Linked DNA regions of Homo sapiens: region 2 is linked to region 1. The links are contacts of gene promoters, found by promoter capture Hi-C in human tissues and cell types (Jung and others, 2019). All regions are on one chromosome and are shown on one strand. Each heading gives the region's core, a stretch centred on a gene start or on the middle of the fragment in contact. The rest is flanking DNA. Distances are from core to core; before and after follow the strand shown. Region 1 holds the start of SRRM4 (serine/arginine repetitive matrix 4). Region 2 has its middle 28 kb from the start of LINC00934.

Evidence for each region. Contacts are between HindIII fragments. The study calls those that stand out against the background at their distance.
Region 2: a contact is called between a fragment that was not itself captured here and the fragment with the promoter of SRRM4 in region 1, in 1 of the 25 tissues and cell types used here (hippocampus).

The regions. Positions count from the first base shown.
Region 1 is chr12:118,978,519-118,984,811 of GRCh38, forward strand. SRRM4 (serine/arginine repetitive matrix 4) reads left to right here and starts at 3,023. Exons shown (of 13, transcript NM_194286.4): 1 at 3,023-3,495. The coding sequence starts at 3,365. The HindIII fragment of the contact is 17,491 bases long and covers 1-6,293 here.
Region 2 is chr12:119,272,340-119,278,471 of GRCh38, forward strand. No RefSeq gene overlaps it. Among named protein-coding and RNA genes, the nearest start is that of LINC00934, 28 kb to the right of the region's middle. The HindIII fragment of the contact is 3,258 bases long and covers 2,335-5,592 here.

The sequences.
Region 1 (6,293 bases), core at 1,773-4,272:
AAATGGTGGTCCATCCTGATATGCGTAGTATCCCACTCCATCCTCCACCCCACCAAGCAAAAACAGAAACTGTATTTTTCACAAATTTCCTTTGCTTCCTACAGGATCACCCTGGGGAAGTCACTTGGTCATCCTCAACTTCTTCATGTTTAAAACAGAGTAAGATCGAATAGCAGGTCTACGTTTTTTAACTTTTATTTTAAGTTCAGGGGTACAAGCGCAGGTTTGTTACATAGGTAGACTTGTGTCACGGGGGTTCGTCGAACAGATTATTTCATCACCCAGGTATTTAGCCTAGTACCCATTAGTTATTTCTCCTGATCCTCTCCCTCCTCCCAACTTCCACCCTCCAAAAGGCCCCAGTGTGTGTTATTCCCATCTATATGCCCATGTGTTCTCATCATTTAGCTCCCATTTATAAGTGAGAACATGTGGTATCAGGTTTTCTGTTCCTATGTTAGTTTGCTAAGGATAATGACCTCCAGCTCCACTCATGTCCCTGCAAAGGACATGATATTCTTTTCATGGCTGCGTAGTATTCCATGGTGTATATGTACCACAACTTCTTTATCCAGTCTATCACTGATGGGCATTTAGGTTGATTCCATGTCTTTGCTATTGTGAGTAGTGCTGCAGTGAACATACACATGCATGTGTCTTTATAAAAGAATGAGCAGGTCTACTTTTAGTTCTTTGAGAAATCTTCATACTGTTTTCCATAGTTGTTGTACCAATTTACATCCACACCAACAGTGTATAACTGTTCCCTTTTCACTGCATCTACACCATCTATTTTTTTTTTTTACTTTTTAATAATGGCCTTTTGGGGGTAAGGTACTATTCGGGTGACAGGTATGTAAAAGCCCAGACTTCATCACTATACAATTCATCCATGTAACCAAAAAACACTTGCACCCTTAAAGCTATTGAAATAAGATAAATAAATAAAATAGAATAAGATCAGCTTTCTCTCCCACCTCATCTGGCTACGATGGGATTTTAAAAAGGCAATGTTTTGCATATGGGAGCTCTATCAACATTTTAGGGATTAGGAGCAGGCACACAACTGGAAGATGTTGACTGATCTTGTGGGGGTAGGATCCCACCTACCTCTCTCCTGCAAGTGACTCAGTTCATACCCTAAATGTCATGACTAAGGTTAGTTTTAAAGATGCCAGTCTGCTACCTATAAGAAGCCAGCTCTAGATTGCATTTACAATGATACCAACTTCTGGGTGGGAAACGGGGGTCTAGCCCAATCAGGGAATGGGGGATTTGGGGCGCAAGGTAAGAGGGAGAGGAAGGGAAGGGGTTAGCCTAGTCTCCACTTTGCTCCATCTCCAACCTTCCCAGGCCTGACCCCCACCTCTGGGCCCTCTCCCCCGGCAACCCACATAAGAAGCCAGCAAATGCACCTCTCGTTGTTGACCAGAAGGGGTCACTGCAGAGCAAGTAGCGCTCTCAGGCACTCAAATAAGCGGACGCAGGCGTGTCGAACACACACACTTCAAACGTAGATACCCTTTGGGGCGGGTACTCATTTACTCCAAGGTTCTTTCTTCTCCTGCCCCATCTTATCCTCTCTGTTGGCCTCTTCATCTTCACCTCCTAGTTACCTCCTGTTCCCCTTCAGAGAATTTCTGGAGTTCCCATTGTTCTCCCGACCCCCCCGCCCTACCCCGCCCTCATTGGGTCCCCATTGCTATCTGCTTTAGCAAAGAGCAGGAGTTTATTCTCGCTGTGACTGGGACTCAGCACCAGGTGCTTGGAGGCATTTAAGACTGAGCGAGGCCTCCTTCCAGGAATTTACAGCCTGGAAAGTGGAAGCGGGGTTGGGGGGAGGGGGAGGGCGTTAGGTGGGAGATGGGGGAGTAACAACTCTGCTAAGATTAAAAGGCTTCCAGGAAGGCAAGGGCTGAGGGGTCCCGCCACGATCTCTTTTTTTTATAATGAAAACCCTGGGGGAAAACAAGAGTCATTCTAACCAGATCTTCTGTGTCTGGGGTTGATTTGGGATTCTAAACCTCCACTTGCTTGGGATTACGATTGAACTGCGAGGCGGTAAGGAGATGGGGAGGAGAGACCGAAAAGTAACTATCCCCCTGCTAATCCTCGAGATTTTCCTCTCCAACCCTCCCACTAAGCGCTTTCTTTTCCAAAACGTACTCCTTTCCCGAGACTAGCGGCATTAGGAAAAGTGGCTGCAGGCGGATTCCCCAGGAGTGGATGGGGGTGGGGTGGGGTGAGATGGGAACTCTTTCCTCTGGACGGGGTTGGCGGCGGGGACGCTGGGCAGGCCGGCTGTGAGACACAAAAGAGATACCCTTGACAGCTCCGCATGCACAGATGTAACGCTGCGCCCCTTGGCGGGCGGGGGCCCTGCTCGGCAGATGGCGAGAAGCCGAATTGGTGAGGGATTGTCTATCAAATGGCACTTTCTGGGTGGTGGAGACCTCGCTAACCCCCGGCGCAAAGAGGAACGCAGGGCACCCTCTGTACCGGCCTAGGCCGTGTCTCCCAAAAGTGAGGGTCTGGGGGAGGCCGGCTGGGGTGGATAGATTAAGTTTTTTACGAGCCCCCCCAACCCCCCCCCCCCCCCCACGCAGAAGATCAGCTACAAGACTTGCGAAGGGGCTGGAAAGAAAGGTGGCCTGGCCCAAAGGGGGCACCCAGGAAAGGGCTGAGGAAGGCCAGCGATGATGGGAGAGGAGAGGGGCCTGGGAAGCAGGATCTCCTGCCTGGCGCAGATTGGGGTGCCAGGATGGCTTCTCAGAGGGATCAGCGCTGCAACTCGGTCGCCGCGGGGCCCTGGTGACAGGCGCACGCCCCGCCCTTTCTCCTCCCAAGACCTGCGGGCTTTTGTTATGCAGATGGCGGCAGGAGGCTGAGCCTGAGGAGGAGGGGGTTGGTGGGGAGGAGGAGAGACGGAGAGGGGGGAGGAAAGTGCAGCTCGCGCGACCAGCCTCCTCTTCCAACGTCACATTGTGCGAGAGACAAAACCCGGGCGCGCCGGAGCTCACACGCGCACGCACACACATCCGACCCCGTCGCCTCTTCTCTCCTGGTGCTGCCCAGAAAGCCAGCCCTCCCTTCCCTTCTTGGGGCGCAGAGGCTCAGCCAGCTCAGAGCGCAGCCTGGAGCCGACCCAGAAGGGCGAAGAAAGCCCAGCGGACGAGCCTCCTTTCTCTGCTGCCTGCCCGGGCTGGGGCGTCCCATCCCCCGCCCTGAACTCCGATCTCTCCCACCCCACCCCTCTCTGGGTTTCACCCGGACAGAGCCGGGAGCTGGGTGTCGCCCCCGTTTGGAATCCACGTTTCAGCACTTTGGACAGCGCCCCGGACGCCCCGGCCCCTTTGGGTTGGCGATGGCGAGCGTTCAGCAAGGCGAGAAGCAGCTTTTTGAGAAGTTCTGGCGAGGAACCTTCAAAGCGGTGGCCACCCCCCGTCCCGAGAGCATCATTGTCGCCAGTATCACGGCCCGCAAGCCGCTGCCAAGGTAATGATCTCCTTCTTAGAAGGGGGGATCCTGAAGGTCCTCCTTTCTGGCCTGTGCCCCAGAGCCCGGAGGGGTGGATGCAGGCAGCCGGGCCAGGGCGCCTGTCTTTTCCCGTCACTACTCGGCGGCTCCCGCTGAAACATGGGAACTCATTGCTTGTGTGAGGTGGAAGATGGTGAGAAGGGACAGGAATTCTTTGGGGGAAAGCAACGCTTATTGGACCCCCGTAGCTCCTATTCAAGAGGTTTTGCTACCTGAGGGTGGGCGGTGCAGATGGGGTACGACTTGACTGAAAAACTTTTCTTGGTGTCACAGAGTCCAGAGGGCAGGTGGGCCAAGGAATGGTGGATTTGAGATGTTTGGGGGGTGTTGTACCAGAAAAGGAGAACTGAGCCAGCTCAAGCAGCGTTCAGAGATAGCACACATTTCCATCCTCGGCTCGGAAACTAGCGAGCTTTGAACATTTTTGACAAAAGCCCATATGCTGTTCCCTCAAATACACCCAAAACAGCACCCTCCTCCACGCCTTTCTGGCGGCTGCTGCCGCTGCTGCTGAATTCTCTCCTCTCCAGCATCCAAAACCAAGACTCTGAGCTCAGGAGTCAGGGAGGAGCCTTCCAAGATCGTGAAGATGATCTTGGAAGAGTTTTATTTTGTTTTTTTTTGTTTTTTTTTTTTTTTTCCAAAAAGAATCTGATTGCTTTGAACTCAGGGATGAGAACCGATCCTTGGATGGTGGTAGACATGGTGCTGATGGAAGGAAGAATAAGGGAAGAAATGAAAGAAACAGGGGAACAGGAGGTGGGGTGAGAGGGAGAGGAGGTTGGGGGAAAATGGAAGCATTCCAAGACAGAGAAAAATCCAATTCTTTTCATAAATCATTCAATTTAGAGGAGTTTAAGAATGAAGGGAAGAAGGCTGTGCTCTCTGTCAGGGAAAATCAAGGTAGTATGAAAACTCATCTTTTGCTGGTGTTGGATGAGTGGTTTAGTAGGAGAAAAGAAAGAAGTGGACCAGGGGGACCACTTGGAGGATTTATTAATCCTGGCAGTCTGCATTAGGGAGCAGATTGAAAACATGTCTGCAAAAGTGCTTAGGACAGACTGAACGTCTGTTCTGGCACAACTGATTCTGAACTTTCCAGTGAGTGTGAGGTGGAAGACGTATGGGAAATTATGTCTGAAGAATCAAAGCCAGATTGGAGAAGTTTTCCTCTTCACTGTCTTATTGAGGATCATACAGGTCTTTAGAGAAATAGGTGTCCCATTTAGGAATGGGTGGCCAAGCATCACAACAGGCCAGTAGGGTGTAGCAGGCTTCAAGCTAAAGCAGCACCAGCCAGTGTTTGCAGACGGGAAGGAGGGGACACCCACCCACCCACTGACACAGGCTGGAGAAGGGGAACAATAATACCAAATGCCATTAAAGGCTGATGCTTCTCTGCTCCGAAGGAGGTTCTGTGTATAGAGTTTTGACGTCAGTGGTTTTTATCTTCCTGGGTTTCTGCTATCTATTCCACCTTTGGAACGTACCTACTGTTGGCTAATCAGGTGCTGCACTGGCCAAAGAAAATGCCCTTGTAGAAGGAACTAGAGGAAATTTCACAGGAAACTAGAAGTATGGCATTTAGTCCAGAGTCTTCCATCTATTTTAGGGGTGCAGGGAGAGGAAAGCGGATTCTTGGTGGTGTTTTGATTCAGGAAAGCACACCTATTATCTGCCTTGCTTGGTACTTTCCACTTTTGTCTGTCTCTCTGTTACTGTCCTGCCCTTTTCTTGGTCATATTTGCAATCACATGAATGGCCCACAAGGTCTTTCAACCCTCATCCTTTCTGCAGCTTTTTGCTAATTCTAATGTAATCCTGAGACTTTTATAATACTCCACTCCCCCTCTGCAACCAGTATCATTTCACTCTTGGTGCCTTTTAATGTCGTGGGTCTCCTTTGCCCTAGAAACCACCCCTGAGGTGAAAGCCTGAACCATAAGCCCTGGATTTATGTCACGCTAGGAGAATCCTGTGTAATACTTCTGTAATAGGCGTGGCCTCTCTGTAGAACAGATTCCGGTTTTATAACTGTTACTCCTGGTTTGGGGTAGAGAGTGAGAAGGGAACATTTGTTTCCAAGTCCTCAGGAAAGGTTGGATTGGAGTTGTCTTTTAACAGACTGGATAAAACCTGAATCATCCCCATTCTCACCCAAGCCAGCCACATCCAGTGACATTCAATTTCCACTTCCTTTTCAACATTCTACACTTACTTAAGGGTGAAAGTACCATGTTTCCAAAGCTGAGTTCTCAAGAGGAAAGAAGACAGAGGCATTGGCACAATATCAGCTGGGTTTGGGTGGCTTCCTCTAGAGGCAATCTGGGGACTTGGTCTCATCAGAAATGTCGTTTAGTTCCATGAGTCAAGCCCAGATCACAGTCGGCAAACCAGCACATGTAGCAGTCTGCAGGGGGATGGCAGGGAGTGGGTGGAGGAACCACTAGTCAGTCCTGTTGGTGTCACACTTAATATTTGTTTATAGATGAAGGCCACCCCTCTGAATAAACTTCCTCAGGATATTTTAAGTCTATCTCTCAAGGTAATTTAGTACCAGGATAGAAACATATATTCAATTCATTGATTTCATAGCAATATGCATACATCATGCAACTGCAATCTAAGCAACCCCCTGCTTAGTCTCTCTTTCTCCTCTACCCCTCTGTGGGGCATACTTGATGAGGCAATAGCTTTATAATGTATCAAATTGCAACCAGATGTCTGCCTCAAATGTCAGAACAGTAGAGCAGAGT
Region 2 (6,132 bases), core at 2,714-5,213, 290 kb after region 1:
TGTCATTCATGGATGGAGGGGGCATCCATCACGTGTTCATGCTTTCTAGCATCTATTCCCTCCCCTCCCAACTTAACCTTCCTAACAGCTCTCAATTCCCATCTGAGAACTCATGTTACTCTGGGGAAGATGGTACCATCCCTGGATGCAGGCATGGGACATGTAACCCAGGAGAAACCAATCAATGGATTTCATCCCTCTGGCCTCAGTGATTGGTTCTGGGGTTGACATGTGACCCAAAATGGTCCAATTGGAGTGAATCTCAAAACAATTCCTTGGAATATTGGAGACAAGATGCTCTCTTCCTCTGGATTTGTGGTGTCTGAGAATGAGATCTCAGCAGCTATTTTTTCTACCGTAATGCAAATCTCCCCCAGAGGACAAGGACACAAAGAATGGCAGATCTGAGAAGACTAGAGAAATGAAGTCACAGCCAAGATCATATCATACACCTCTGGACCCATGCTACAACCCCCCTTACCTCTGAACATTTCTCTGTCTTTTTGTTGTTGTCAAGCCAGTCTGAGTTGGATTTTCTGTCAACAGCAACTGAAAACTTCCTTTTTTATTACTTGGCTGCATATATTTCTTCAACAAGCACCTATTAAGTGCCTACTTTGTATCAAGTACTGAGTTAGGTGTAGATATAGTGCTTCTCACAAAAGATACTGTAAAATGAGTCAGAGGAGGGATGAGTGGTTAATAGAGCTGGAAGCATTTAGACATGTCAACTGGCTCACTTTAAGAGAGTCCTGTGTAATTTTAAGGTAATATTTAAAGCATAGATATTTGCAATTTATTTGCAAATTATTAACTTTGCAAGTAAAAAAACAAATACAGTGATTTTAAGGTTATCCCTGGAAGAAGGACAACCTGACTGCCTTGCATTATGGTATCTGCTAATGTCATAATCTTTACCATTTTTACATACTACCTGTTCATTTTTATTTAATATTATTAAATTGATTCACTTACAGAACTTACATAGATGTATTTCAAGACAAAATTTCTATAATACCACTAAAATGGAAAACTAGTACCACTTTACATGAATAGAAGGCAATCATAAAATAAGTACAATGAAATTATAGAATGTTACTAAATACTGAGAATGGTGACCTGACAAATGCCCTGACCCTGTGGACTGCTGTGTCTTTTGCCAAAAGGGAAATTAGCAAGGGTCCAAAAGGTGTTAAAGACATGTTAGCACCCCAACTGAGACTTTCTCCTTGTTACGTTTGGAGGGACTAAAAGAACATTGAAAAAAGGGATCAATTTCTCACCAAGTATTTCACTGTTACTTAATGCTGCCTCTGCACACAGCTATATATTACCTCCTTTGCACAAAATGTACTGCCCTTACCAGTCTTTGAGAAACACTATTTTAACCAAATCTCATTTGATAGCTGAGCAAATCGAAGCCTGGAGAGATAATGGGACTCTCCTAAGGCTTCCTGATTTCCAGCCTGCTCAACTCCCCCGTATTCAATAATATTTTATTACTTTCATTGGATTTATTTTGTGATTACCTTCTAATTAAGGCAAGTGACTCTGGGTTTTTCTTATTTATGGTAATGATATCAAGTTTCCTTTTTAAGTAAGCTTTAGTTGCTTTTAAACCATCCCATTGTTGAGACCAATTTGAAATAAGGCCCTTAGCAATGCCAATGGCCCCGTGTTCCCACCACTGATATGGGAGTTGGGGCAGGGAAGTGCTGGGTAAAGAAGGGCAGGGTCCCTGGCAAAGGATTCACCCTTGGGCCTGTGCCCACGGACCTAGGTGAGGACAGCCACTCCTGTTTTCGTGCCCAAATGGTGCATTTTCTAAGACCACTCTAACCTGCCAAATGCCCCATCCTGTAACTATAAAAACCCCAAGACCCTAGCAGACACAGACACAAACAGCTGGAGGTTGAGAGGAACACACTGGCAGAAGCACACACCAGCAGACACCAGTAGACGCCGGCAGGCCATCTACGGTAGGACAATGCAGAATTCAGTTGGGGGCGGTTGGAGGGGAGTCCAGTTGCTGAGCATTCTGACTCCAGGGGAAGATCACCTTTCCACACCACCCGCTGCTGGCTCTCCATTCATCTGCTGAGAGCTACCTTCACCCAATAAAACCTTGCACCCATCATCCAAGCCCAAGTGTGATCTGATTCTTCCAGGACACTGGGGCAAGAACCTAGGGTAAAGAAAGCCCTCTGTCCCTGTGATAAGGCAGAGGGTCTAATTGAGCTGATTAACACAAGCTGCCTGTGGACAGCTACGCTGAAAGAGCACACTGTACCACACGCCCACTGGGGCTTCGGGAGCTATAAACATTCAACCCTAGATGCTGCTGTGGGGTCGGAGCCCGCGCTCCCCACGACCTGCTCATCTGCATGCTCCCTCTAGGGGTTTAAGCTGTGGGGCACTGAAGAAGAGAGCCACACCCCCATCGCACACCCCGAGAGGGGGATAAGGGAATTTTTCCTGTTTCACCACTACCACTTTACCCCCAGGCAAAGGCAGGCACAGGGATTTATACCATCCTCTACTGCCCCATGCTGGAATCCCTAGATATGCCCCATGATTCAAGTCCTTCCCTCCCCAAGCCTAGGGGAAAAAATAGAAGCTAGGATAAGTGATTCCTCTAAAGCAGGGTTTCTCAATCTCAACACGATTGACCTTTGAGACGAGATAATCTAGCTGCTCTGTAGATGTTGAGCAGCATCCCTGGCCTCTACTCATGAGATGCCAGTAACACACCCCCCACACACAAGTTGTAACAACCAGAAATTTCTCTAGACATTGTCAAGTGTCCCCTGGAAGCAAAGTCACCCCTGGTGAAAAACCATACGCTTACTCATGGCTGGCAGCTTCCTATCCCAGCCCTCCAAATTTTCACAATAAACTTTAAATACAGAGCAGTCCTTTGCCACTACAGTTGAGGTAATTTGAGATCACTTTTTTTTTTAAGACCAGAATATTTTCTAAGAAAAAAAGAAATAATATGAACTCTCCACCAGCCATAAAGTTTACTCTTTTTAGACAATTCATGTACACTCTCCCAGGTGAAGGAAGCTTAAGTGATAGCACCTTCAATGGGTCCCTTACATTTGCCCACTGCTGGGTCCTGTCTTAATATTACTGAGCAGAGCCAATATGTGGCACCTGCTGAAGTGGGCATTCCATTTTCTCATAACCCCTTGCACCTTGACTTTGGATATTTAAAACCAGGTGCATTTCCATGCCTCATTTTAATATTTGGGGTCCATGCACTGACTAAATGCTGTGCCTGAACAAGTTTGAGCGGGACTTAGTGCCCCAGAAAGCAAATGTGCCATTCTTAAAGGAATCGTTGATGTTAAAAAGTCAAGTAAAAGGGATAGCATCAATGAATGAATGAATGAAAATGTGTATTTTTTTTTTTCTTTTTTTGAGACAGAGTCTCACTCTGTCACCCAGGCTGGAGTGCCGTGGCACGATCTCGGCTCACTGCAAGCTCTGCCTCCCAGGTTCACGCCATTCTCCTGCCTCAGCCTCTCGAGTAGCTGGGACTAATTTTTTTGTATTTTTAGTAGAGACAGGGTTTCACCTGTGTTAGCCAGGATGGTCTCGATCTCCTGACCTCGTGATCCGCCTGCCTCGGCCTCCCAAAGTGCTGGGATTACAGGCTTGAGCCACCACACCCGGACAACGTTTGTGTATTTATCCATTTATCCATGTAATACGAAATTATAGTAAAATGCTAATGTCATAGTTCGGGTTCCTTTAAAAACAGACTCTGAGACAAGGATTTGGGTTCAAAGAGTTTTTTTGGGAGTGATCCCAGGAAGCATTGTGAAGAAGTGGGGAAGTCAGACAGAGAAGGGAAGATGGCAATCCAGGATATCTTAATGAGCTGGTCACTCTCCATGGACTGTTGGGGTTTAATCCTTCACGATACTTCTAGTAGATAATGTAGAATATGCTTCAGAATTGTCCCTCCAAGGATCAAGGAAGCTGGGGTATTTGTCCTCACGGGTTGAGGAACACTCATGAAGTGTCACTCCTCCGGTGCTTTCTACCTGCTCTGAGAGGTATCAAGCACACTACCATGGCCCATGGACACCCTCAGGCTGAGAGATACTGGAAAGCATCACAGCCTACTGGAAGTCATCAGAGCATCCAAGAACTGCGGCAGACAACTGAGGCCTAGGGAGTGCAGGTTGAGTACCAACTGCACCTCCCAACGGCATCTGCCTGGAGTAGGCACATGTGGCTGCAAAAACATTGGGGGGATGAAGGAAAGCTCCCACCCCCTAGTTTAGGCTGCAGGTCTCTGGAATTATTTTAACAGCCTTCTAATAGTCTTCCTGTTCCCCTTTGTCTGCTCTCCACTTGGCAGCCAAAGTGAGCTTCCTGAAACACAAATCTGATTATTTCACCCTTAAAACTCCTCAGTGCCTGCAAGATAAAGTCCAAACCTTTCAACGCTCTAACTTTACTTACCTCTGTGGACTTATTTCTCAGCATTCCCATGCCTTCTCAGCTGAACCTGAAGTTCCCAAACAGAGCACCAACTAACTCTCAGAACTATGCCAAACATGGGGGATGAGAAGACAATATGATACGATACACTCCCTGCCTTCAGTGATGTCATTGAGACCTATGATGTGGTCTATCAGGGTCAGGGGGTGGAGGGTGTGCAGGAAGAACAAGATGGAAACGAAGAATTCCAGTCCTGCATATACCCAGGAAGCTACCATGGAAGGCACACATTACATAGATGTCATCCATATACAGAGATTTGGTTATTTTAAGATTAACCCTTTCTTGTCTGGAGTTAGCTAAGAGAAAGTCAGGGATGGGAGACAAGGCTGCTAAGTTTGGAAAAAGAATGTCTCCCTGATGTGTGCAACAGGTAGCACAGGACACTGGGAACAGGGGGATGTACTGGAGGGAACCAAGAGGGAAAAATCGGAGTTGCAGGGCTATGTGTTTTTCTCAGCAGCCTTTACAGCCCCAGATGACAGCCTCTGCAGTCATTGTCTATGGCCCCTCTACAGCCCTCTTGGAACCTTCAGAGCTCAGCAGATGCATAGACCTTCAGCTGATTAGCCTCAGAGGTGACTGGGCGGCTCCAAGAGGCTAGAAGCAAAGAAAGAGCAGCGAGTGTGGAGGTGGATGGGTCTAATTATGCAGGAGCCATTTTCTGTTTACATAAAAATACCTTGAGTAATCAGTGGTGATGAGCAAGAGGAGGAAAGAGCCTGCCTGAGAGTCTGAGGATGTTATGATCAATTAAATACCATCTTTCCAAATGTTTGCAGAGGGGAATTTTAAGATGGAACTGATTTTAATTTGACAAAGAAAACCTGAAGCGCTTTTCCTTGGGGCTCCAAAATGCATGCATATTGGCCTAGCCTGTGTCACTTGCTTCACTAAGAGTATATATTCCCTTCATGTTATTACTCCTGTATTTTCAGGATGAGTAAACAAAGCAGAAGAAATTCTCTTTATATGTTAAGTGCCTACTCTGTGCCAAGTGTTTTGCAAATATTATTTATAAACATTGAAAACCCCATAAAGGTGGGTGTTACTATTAACTCCACTTTGTGAGCAAGGAAACTGAGACATCAAGAGGGGAAGCGACTTGCAAAATGGAGGTCTAGAGTCAGTTTCACAGCTATGTAAAGTTGGTATGACTTCCATGTATCTATTTCCAAAGTCAGAGGCAGGGATGGGGATCACTACTATCCCACAGGACAGAAGCAGAGCTTGGAGCAAGGCTAAGAAGGTCCTGGACTCTGCCTCCAACTTCACTGTAAGGTTAGGCTGGACTAGATGATTAAAAGCCCCTCAAAACTACTGCAATCTTTGCTTGTCGGTGGGTTTGGACATGGCCTCGTTGCTTATGAGAAGTAGACACTCCTGGCAATAGAGCAAGGTGGAGAGTATGTGCATTTTGGAATCAGACAGGTCCCACTTGCAAGCTGGGTGGCCTTGAGCAAGTTGTTCAACCTCTCTGAGCTCCAATTTTCACACATATGAATGAGAGGTATTTTTTTTTTCTGAATAATTAGTGCAAGATTCAGTGTGATGATGTCCATTAAGTGTCTGGCACAGAGTGGGTATTTATCAAAGTTATGCACCTTCCTGTTTCCT